Linked DNA regions of Homo sapiens: region 2 is linked to region 1. Evidence: promoter capture Hi-C in 16 types of primary human blood cells and fetal thymus (Javierre and others, 2016). All regions are on one chromosome and are shown on one strand. The core of a region is centred on a gene start or on the middle of the fragment in contact, and the rest is flanking DNA. Distances in the headings are between cores, read along the strand shown. Region 1 holds the start of CEP70 (centrosomal protein 70). Region 2 overlaps TFDP2 (transcription factor Dp-2).

The links. Contacts are between HindIII fragments. The CHiCAGO score rates a contact against its expected background, and 5 or more counts as called.
Region 2: a contact is called between a fragment that was not itself captured here and the fragment with the promoter of CEP70 in region 1, in 1 of 17 cell types (total B cells). The highest score is 9.3, in total B cells.

What each region holds. Positions count from the first base shown.
Region 1 is chr3:138,591,668-138,596,715 of GRCh38, reverse strand. CEP70 (centrosomal protein 70) reads left to right here and starts at 2,456. Exons shown (of 18, transcript NM_024491.4): 1 at 2,456-2,518; 2 at 4,760-4,862. RefSeq lists an enhancer at 2,192-2,251. The HindIII fragment of the contact is 6,508 bases long and covers 1-2,846 here.
Region 2 is chr3:142,025,198-142,030,245 of GRCh38, reverse strand. The region is part of intron 3 of TFDP2 (transcription factor Dp-2); the gene reads left to right. Among named protein-coding and RNA genes, the nearest start is that of TFDP2, 120 kb to the left of the region's middle. RefSeq lists enhancers at 913-962, 1,369-1,870 and a silencer at 2,257-2,306. The HindIII fragment of the contact is 204 bases long and covers 2,060-2,263 here.

The DNA.
Region 1 (5,048 bases), core at 1,207-3,706:
CTTTCAACTTAAGTGTCACTTCATCAGAGAGGCTTCCTCCATAGCCCCTCTTCTCTTCTTTGATATCACTTATTATATTAATAATATATACTTAATTGCATTTGTTTCATATTTTCTCCGCAGTTAGACTATAAGATCCACGAAGGCAGGAATCACAACTGGGCTTACTTACTATTGTAAACTCCCCCACTTATAAATCTGACTCAGCATCTAGTTCAATCCCTGGTACAAAACAGGTGCTTAACAAAAAAATTTTTTTTTTTTTGAGACGGAGTTTTGCTCTTGTTGCCCAGGCTAGAGTGCAATGGTGAGATCTCGGCTCACCGCAACCTCCGCCTCCCGGGTTCAAGCGATTCTCCTGCCTCAGCCTCCTAAGTAGCTGGGATTACAGGCATGTGCCACCACACCCGGCCAATTTTGTATTTTTAGTAGAGATGGGGTTTCCCCATGTTGGCTAGGCTGTTGTCGAACTCCTGACCTCAGGTGATCCACCTACCTTGGCCTCCCAAAGTGCTGGGATTACAGGCGTGAGCCACTGTGCCCGGCCAACACATTTTTATAAATGAATGAATGTTAAATGAATGTTTAGAATTATTAGAATTCTATTGGGTAGATGAGGCCCATAGAAAACTCTTGAGACCAATGTAGCAGGATTCTCAGTGAAAGACTAAGTTTGTGTGCAGGGATGTTTTCCTTCTCTAGCAAAGAGAGGTGCTGGAAAGGCTTTCATGGTCCATAAGAAGGGAATTGTTTTGGAGGGCAGTGCTATAGCAACTCTTCCCCTCCATTCACCACATAAAAAATTCAGTTAGAAAATAGAGAGGAATCAGCCTTCTTGTGCTTTGAAGACTGTGAAAGATACTGGTGATCATCCATCTAGCATCCATTTTCCTCTTCTCCTTTACAGGTCTCCAGTTTTATTCAAATAGCCATGTCTCCACCTTGCAACTCATGTGACTCAAAGAGCACTGACACCATTGCCAATTCCAATTGTCATAGCTCCTTTTCACTTCTGGAACCCAGGCTTAAGCTGTCTGTACATTTCCCAGGCAGTTACTGGTAAAGAGGAAGAGTGTGTGCCTGTGTGAACTTATTGGCTCAAAAAACCAGAAGGAAAGGTTTTAGATGAAAAAGAAAGTATGTGGTCCTGATTTCTCCAAGTAGACATCTGGAAAATCACGTTAGTATGAATTTGAAGTCTACCCTTTTTTTTTTTTACAACAAAGCAGAGACTAATAGCAACTGGGTCCTTGTTAACTTGCTTAGCCACTGAATTAATCAAAGTCTCCCTTGCCTCTGAGCTTTCTGTTATGCGAGATAAGCAACTTCTTTATTTTTTAGGAAGACAGTTTAACTCAGATTCTATATCACGTGCATCCAAAATAATAATAACTGACTCAAAGATGTTTGGCCTCTACAATTAGGGCAGCCATTCTCAGAAGAGTATGCAAGGGCACCCTATTATCTTGGAAAAGGGAAGCACTGAGACTATTTGCATTTTGAGAACTGAAAATGCAATCTGCTAACCGTCGTTAGAGTGAATATCCAGGTATGGAAAGCACAGTGGGTAGGCGTAGGTTGGGGTAGGGACATGTTTGCATGGGGCAAACACAGAGATCAAACCTAAGTGTAGTCCCAGCTGCCTGGAAGAAGGCTAAGAAGGGTCTGAAAGTATTGAGCTCCAAGAGCCCTTGGATCTCCTGATGAGAGACCCTTGGCTGATGCCCTAGATGGGACATCCCTGTTGGCTACTGTGGGACCTGCATCATTTGACTGCAACACAGTCTGTTGCAACATTTGACTGTAACACAGACCTACATCATTTGACTGATTTGAAAAGACAAGTTGTCAACAGCGACACCATGTGGCTATAAGATACAATGACAATGGTGGACAGCTACAGCCTCAGGTAGGGCCTGACGCTTCGTCGAGATGTGGAAAATGCTGAATGGGAAGATGAACTGTCGTCAACAAATATTTATTGGGGTCCTCCAAATGTCAGCTGCTACAGTGGTCATTCAGGTCTGGAACATCGAGAACATGCTGACCCGTACCCCAGCAAGGGCTCGTAGTCGCGGCGGGGTAGGGGGCGAGAGAGAGGGCAGTCTCTGGTGGCCAGGTAACCCAGGCTTCACTTTCACCCACGGCCACAAGTATTTCTGACGTCTTCCGGGCAAATAAGCCTCCATGTAAGTGACAGGGCACCCAAGGAGTGCGTTGGAAGCGCCAGCGTGCCCGAGACCAGCACATCGCACCGACGCCTTCGTTTGCGGTAAGCCCCGCCCCCCGTAGTGAGCCAACCGGAGGGAGCGGGGCGGACCCAGCTTCCCGGAGAGGCTGGAGAGAATCGTTTGGGGGCATTCGCAGGCCAAAGAGGGGCTGGCCCTCGACGCGCTCGGGCTCGATTGGCCGCCCTCCCCCGGCGGTGGTAACGGTCGCGGAGGCGGGGCCTGACGTAGCTGATCCCAGCCTAACCTGGCCCGGCTGGCTGCTGGTGGGAGGCCGGCGACTGAGTAAGGTGAGTGGCTCTCGGGGCTCTCAGAGGCGTCGGCGTGAGCCCCTTCCCGGAGTACCCCGGACTTGACCTCACCTGGGCCTAAAAGTGGTCAGACTGACCCTTGTCGGGGAGGAGCCATCTGGGACAGGGTCGCGCCAATTAAAAATCCCTGCGTAAGGGTTTGGGGATCGGACAAAACTGCCTCCAGTCCCAGCTCCCCAGGCTTTGTGTTCTTTGGCTTCTCCTTTAATGTCTCAGCGCCTCCGATTCTTTATTTGTATACTAAAGCTGGTAATTCTTGCCTTACAAGGTGGTTGTGAGGGTTAAATGAGGCAGTAAGAGTAAAGCTTAGAATCACGTCGGGCACAGACTCGATTTAAGCTGTAGGTAATTACTCCATCCCCCAAAATCGACCCGGGCTGAAGCGCTAGTTTTGTGTCAAACAACCGCGAAGGTTGTTTGGGGAGTGAGGACTCGGAGCAGAAGGGGGCGGTTAGGCGAATAGCACAGGTGAGTATCTCTTTCTCCAGTTTATTAACCTCATTCCGGATTCAGGAGACCTCTGACTTTATACAGGGCCTAATAGGAGTTTTTCAAGGTGAAAAATGCCAGAAGGCTAAGTCACCTGTAACAGAGAGACCAATCAGAGTTTCCTTTTTTACTGCCACTTTGTTTTTCAATCAATGATATTAAACAGGCAGGGCGCAGTGGCTTACGCCTGTAATCTCAGCACTTTGGGAGGCCGAGGTGGGCGGATCCCCTGAGGTCAGGAGTTCGAGACCACCCTGGCCAACATGATGAAACCACGTCTCTACTAAAAATACAAAAATTAGCTGGGCATGGTGGTGTGCGCCTGTAATCCCAGCTACTCGGGCGGGTGAGGCAGCAGAATCGCTTGAACTCGGGAGGCGGAGGTTGCTGTGAGCCGAGATCGCGCCACTGCACTCCAGCCTGGGTGACGGAGCGAGACTCTGTCTCAAAAATATATGTATAATATATTAAACTCTGTGCAGGCATTACCCATATTGGTTTCAAGCCTCTGCATGAGTTTTGTACTTTAAATATTGCCAAGTAGACTCTGGCCTCCCCTGCCCCGCCTTTTGGGGAAGAGGTGGCTGACTTGGAGTTTTCCCTACAGCTTTTGCTTCAAAGCAAGGTTCTGCCCCTTCATGTCACCTCTCCTGAGACAGAATGATTTGGTTGAGATGACATTCCATTTTAACTCTTTCCTATTTGGGGTAAGTTCAGCTCTTTCTTAGGAACATTAAACAGCAAGTTGCAATATTTTTAGAATAGAGCTTTTGCATTTAATAAGGAATAGAGACTTCGAAAGGGTTACATGTTCATTTATTGCAGTAATTTGAAGTATATACTTTTGAAGATGCTTACAGATTTTGGTGTGATTCAGTTGAGAAGGAACAGTTATTGGCCATGGTTTATTGTCAGCTCCCCTCCCCCACCCCAAATGGTGAAAAAAATAATTAAATTTTAAGATATGGAGCATGTTACAAGGGGCTTCAGACCTATAAAGGGCAATTTGGCTGAAAGACTCGGGAAACCTAGAAAGTGCCAGAAGATGCAATTATGTTTTTGCTTTTCTATGCTTGGCTTACTATGCCATGTACAAATCAACTCCTACCCTCCGACTCCTACCCCCCGACTCCTACCCCCAACAATCTTATTTTAAGTGTGTTATGACAGTAATTAAAGCTGTAGCTTCTGTTTTGGCCCTAGAAAGCATTTGGTCTCTTCCTGTGACTTTAAAGTTCCAGACCTTTGTCCTGTCACAGCCTGTAGTGGGGAAAAGGCTGCTGCAAACTATTGGCCCGTTTATTTCACAGAATGGTCCTCTGAAAAGGAGGGCTTGGTCACAGGTGCAAATGAGGAGTAGTTTTGTTCCTGTGTTTGCTTTTGTGATCAGTGGTAGTTTGTCTGAGGATGCTTCATTTTAGTATCCTTGCAAATGAGAATATCCTACCTGTGGAGCCAGAAGTCAGAATTGATGATAGATGATGATAGATTTGGATACCCAGCTAAATGTCTTAACAAGGTAGGGAGAGGAAAGATAAGAAGGAGAGAGAAGAGAAGGGAAGAGGCATATGATGGTGAGCTGGGAAGGCCATTAGCAGTTATTTCAGTTGTGCCTGCTTTATCTGTGATTACCAGTACCTTGGATGCCTGCTCTGGGAGTAACACAAGACCATTCTTACTAGGAGGTTGAACATTTCAAGATTTTGTTCTTTTTATCTTTTTGAAACCTAGATGAAGATCCAGTTTCAGACATGAGACTCGTTGGGTGATCATTTCATTGAGATCAACCTGAATGACCAGGTGTAAAGTGCAAGAGTAATATGCTATGACTGAGGTATGTCTAATGTAACGGATGACTCCAGATGTTGGGAGGCCATGGAAAAAAATCTAATATTTATTGAGTACTATACTAGGTTCATTACATATATTTCCTTTTGACTTCCTGATAATCCTATCAGGTAGATATTTTACAACTCAGCAAAGAAGCTGAAGCTCAGAGAGGTTAAATACCTACTTAAGA
Region 2 (5,048 bases), core at 912-3,411, 3.4 Mb before region 1:
TTATACTAACACGTGTTTACAACCCAGTTTAATTTACACCCTGTATTGTATTATTGTTGTCATATCTCTGTATGCATGTAAGTATAATATGTGTTGGCAAAGGAAAATTTTGAGTAAGAAGAAGCTCTCTGATCTATTTGATTCAATATGTATTTGAGTGTCTAACAGACACTGTTTTAGACACTGGTGATACAACACTGAACGGAGCACCAAATACTTTACAGCGTCTCCTGGAGCTGTTGTCAAGACATACTTTCCAAGGGGAATATTTCAGAATAGGTGATAACTAGTCAACGAAGGAAAAGTACCTTAGTCATCTAGGAGAGTTGTACTTAGAGTGAACTGAAATAAACTAAGCTCACGAAAGACAGAGATTTTTTGTTTGGCTTTTGTCTGTTGCATTCACTACTGTATCTCCAGGGCCCAAAATAGTGCTCGGCTCATAATAAGTATTCAGCAAATATATGTTGTTGATTGGAGTGTTTGTTTTGAATTTCTGTAATCAAACACATACCTTGGTAAATTATCTTTACATCTTGCTAGTTGAAAATTTTATCTCAGTTGCTTTGTTTTTAATGTTACCTTGCTTTTTGTTTCTACTTGTGCCATACATCAGGATGCTGGAAAAGCTTATTAATATTGACAGTCATATGGTTATCTGATATTGAAAAGAATAGATTTGGAAAGGAACCTAAGAGGTCATCTTTTGTTCAGCTTCCTGCCTAGGAAAACTAAGTAAGATGATTAGGTATGTATATTTAATTAGTCATTTAAAAAAAAACCAGGACAACATAATTGAGTTCCCTCTTGAGAAAATGGAGAAAGGTACTTAACCCTAGCTATAAAGGGACTAACCTGGAAATTTTAGAACTTCTGTGTGGGAAAGTGGAAAAAAAAAAAAAGCACAACTAAGCTGCTCTTTGTTGATATCAGAAATGGGCCTGTCATTCATTTTGGCATTGAAGCATAGCCTCCTATCTCGGGGCAGGACTGGGACATTTTTTTCCTCCCACAAGAGCTGGACAGTTATTACAGGTTCAAAAAGCCCCGACCAGTTTTTCAAGAGTTTCTCCTCCTCTTTTCCCCCTGAAACTCGTGGTGCTTTTGCTCTGCTTTCAAGATGCATTAAGTCTCCTGCTTTGTGACTGCTTTGGAGCCAGCAGATACTCTGATATGTATAATTCAAATTATGCAGGTTTCACGAGTAAGTTTAATCTTATTTTTTAAGTTAGTTAAAAGGCAAGTGATATTTAGAAAAATGTTAACTTGTAGTTATTTCACCCTTTTTACTTTAAGCATTTTTATTGCTTCTCGGCCTTTTGGCTAAGATCAAGTGTGTACTTTAAGCATTTTTTAAAATAAAAATATCCTTTTAATTTAATAAGAAAACAAGGTTCTACATAGAAAAGCCCCTTCATCTAAGACCTGCACTTTTCAATTTCTTTTGAGATGTCTTTGTTGTAAACAGTATTCATATGTCTTTTGAAAGCCAGTTAACTAAACAGTTTTCTTGAGCATCTTTTTAGTTTTACTGAGAAGTATTTTAAATTGAGCTTTTCTGAGCTCGATTGCTTACGTCTGACACAGTCTCAAGTTTCCACTGAATGGTAACAAAGACTGTAGAATGTTGTTGGTACTGCAGTGAGAGGCATGCTTCCTTAGACCAGGTAAGAGAGATCAGTTTGTTTCTCACTGCTGGGTGAGTTTTTACAGCTCTTATTTTATATTCTTTAAGCAGCAGCAATATTAAATTGATAAATAGCCAGGAGCACGCTGATTTCAAGACGTCCTTGCTTGTTGCAGACAGAAAAACTACAGGGTTATGTATGGGGGTTGGGGTGGGGGGGGAGGGGAAGAATTAGTTTATTACTCAGTTACTTATATAAATTAATTAAAATGTGAAAATAATTCTGGAGCTCAGTTTTCTTAATTCAGGAACTAAAGCAGCAGTTGAGGAAATCAGTAATTTTAAAGGTACTTCATGGTTATTACTTGTGAAAGCAATTCAAAGGATAGTTTTTACTTTCATTTTTTTCCCCAGTAGTTAATAAAATAAGCTTTGCCCTTAACTAAACATTTTTTCCACTTACGAAAACTTTTAAATTGCCAACAGCAAAATATACTTCCCAAGGATCCTTGGAAATCAACCTGACACTTGAAAAATATTTCAGCTTTTATAGCTGTTTCATTCCTTTTTTTCCCTAGTACATTTTTCTTAAAAGTATTTGTGCTTTGAAAATGTCAGCTGTATTCTAATGAAGCTTAGGCATTGTTTGCTCATAAAGGGGCCGGTGCATTCCACTGCTTTATGGTTTATTATGAGGCACAGTGTGAGAGTGTGGGTGGCACCATTTGGTGTCTGCCTCTTGGGGTAGTGACTGCCATTATGTTAGCCTTGGACTGGCAAAGAAAATATAGCATACAAGATGCTATATGAATCTGGATACTGTGAAGAAAATCTTACCCCTAAACAATTCTTAATGACCCCGGAATATATGACAACTTGATTGAATTGATCATTTCAATTATACCCTTGAAGTTTGCATTTTAGTTACAACGTATATTCTATTAGACACGTCTTATTTTTTGATATATAATAGCATTTAGTCATTCTTTGAAGTTCAATAAGGAAGTGAATGTTTCTAAACTATGATGTTTTTAATAGATACAGTGAAATTTTAAATAATACATTTACTTAAAAAAGTTTTAAGGAACTTAGTGTGGGTGGGGAGCGGGAGTGGGAGAGGGAGAGGGAGAGGGAGAGGAGGTCAGGCAGAGAGTCTTTCTTCTTTCAGTTAGGAAAGCCCTGGTGAAGAAAAAAAGCAACAGATGTTTCTTCTGTTACAATTGAGGTTGTTTCATTCAAAACTCAGAGTAGCTGGAATGGAGAGAGGAGGTCATAAATCTGATTTAATCAGTGAATAAATAAAATTTAGTCATTTAAAATTTATTATTTTATATTCAGGAATTGAAAGTCATAGAGTAACAAAATGAGTAACATACCCAATATTTAAAAAAAAACTTTAAATATTGCCTGTAGCCTGTATAATTAATGAAAATGTGAGAAAATTAATTCTGTTGAACTTCACTTAAGGAAAAAATTGATAATTAAATCATATAGACCATTTTTTTAAAGCCTAAGCCATCTAAAATATAGAGGAAACAGTTGCAAAAGTTTATCACTAGACAGTAGGTACAAAATCTCAAAATGAAAATAAAATGAGAAACATCAGTTACATATGTTGATAGATGATTTCATCTTCTGTGAGAAGCTGAGGCTTATTCCTAAGACCTTTGCATAAGAAATATGGGAGTAATATTTTGGGTTTAATTGAAATGATATGTTGCAGTTTGCCTCTAAAAAGAAAGATAATAAGCTTGGATTGGTTGCTAATGGAAAGAGGAGAATGTTTATCTGCTGAAAAGAGTAGGAATGAAGAGTGTGGAAGCATTATGCGTGTAATGAAAGCAGTCAAAATTTTGAAAAACAGTTTTTGAATTTTTGGAATTCATAATGAGGAAAGTGAAAACCTTTCCTTTTACAAGTAACACAAAGAAGTCCTATGCTGTTGTATAATGTGCGTGTATACACATTACAACTTTATTCATTTCTTAAGTTTGCTCTTGAAAAATCAGTGCTGAGCACCAGCTCTTTCACATATGAGGCACTTATTCAATATTTGCCATACCCTACACTGGAAAATTCGTAGTAATTTACAGTAGCCAATAAAGTTTTTGAGCTATAGTTTAAAATTTGCATATGGATTAATTATTATACAGTTTTCTAAATAATTGGCCTAAGGAGAGAGAAGGCTGGAAAAGATATCAACATTCAAGCAGATTATTAAAAATTCCTCTTGCTGTTAGCTAAGATCTGTGGGCTTACCTGAAGTTATTTTTTTGTTGTTTTTTTTTGTTGTTTTTTTGTTTTTTTGAGACGGAATCTCGCTGCAAGCTCTGCGTCCCAGGTTCACACCATTCACCTGCCTCAGCCTCCCCAGTAGCTGGGACTACAGGCGTCCACCACCACGCTCAGCTAATTTTTTGTATTTTTAGTAGAGATGGGGTTTCATCATGTTAGCCAGGATGGTCTCAATCTCCTGACCTCGTGATCTGCCCACCTCGGCCTGATGGTCTCGATCTCCCGACCTTGAGATCCGCCTACCTCGGCCTCCCAGAGTGCTGGGATTATGGGCGTGAGCCACTGCGCCGGCCAGAAGATTTTCTTTTCTTCAAATAATGATGACCAAATTTAGAGATTTTGAAGTTTGTTTGTTTTTTGAGATGGAGTTTCGCTCTTGTTGCCCAGGCTGGAGTGCAATGGTGTGATCTCGGCTCACTGCAACCTCTGCCTCCTGGGTTCAAGCGATTCTCCTTCCTCAGCCCCCCAAGTAGCTGGGATTACAGGCATGCGCCCACACGCCTGGCCTTTGAAGTTTATTGAATCATTATTTCAATTAAGATTCAGATTCTAAAACTTATCTATGTACATTTTGCTTATCTTAAGGAATAGCAACATGTAATGGTTGAGGTTTTTTCTCTCTAAAATAAGTAAAACAATTTACATGGACTTTAAAATGGATTTACAAACTATAGATTTGCCTAAAGAACTTTTTTTACAATTCTGATCAAAGAACAGAAATTTTGATGGAATAGACAGGCTTAAAAAAAAGTTGGTCACTCCACATGTAATACATAACTGTGACAGCATCATAGATTGTGATTATAAAAAATGTGTATCACTTACAATTATAAATGTAGACATGACAATAAGTTACTTAACAAGGAAAACAGTATCAGCAACAGCAACAAGGACATAGTTTGGACTCCTAGCCCTTCAAATTGAGAAATGAAGACCAAAATCAGTTGAATTATTTTAAGATGAATTCCCACTGCCTCTGTATGTGTAAATTATCTTGGAATTATTGAATGTGTGGTCAAATTATGGTTGAGAAGAGCACATTAGTTTTAGCATATATGGAGTATAGAACATAGAGAGTATAATTTTCTATATTATATTGTTGATTTATACTCTATGAGAAACCAAA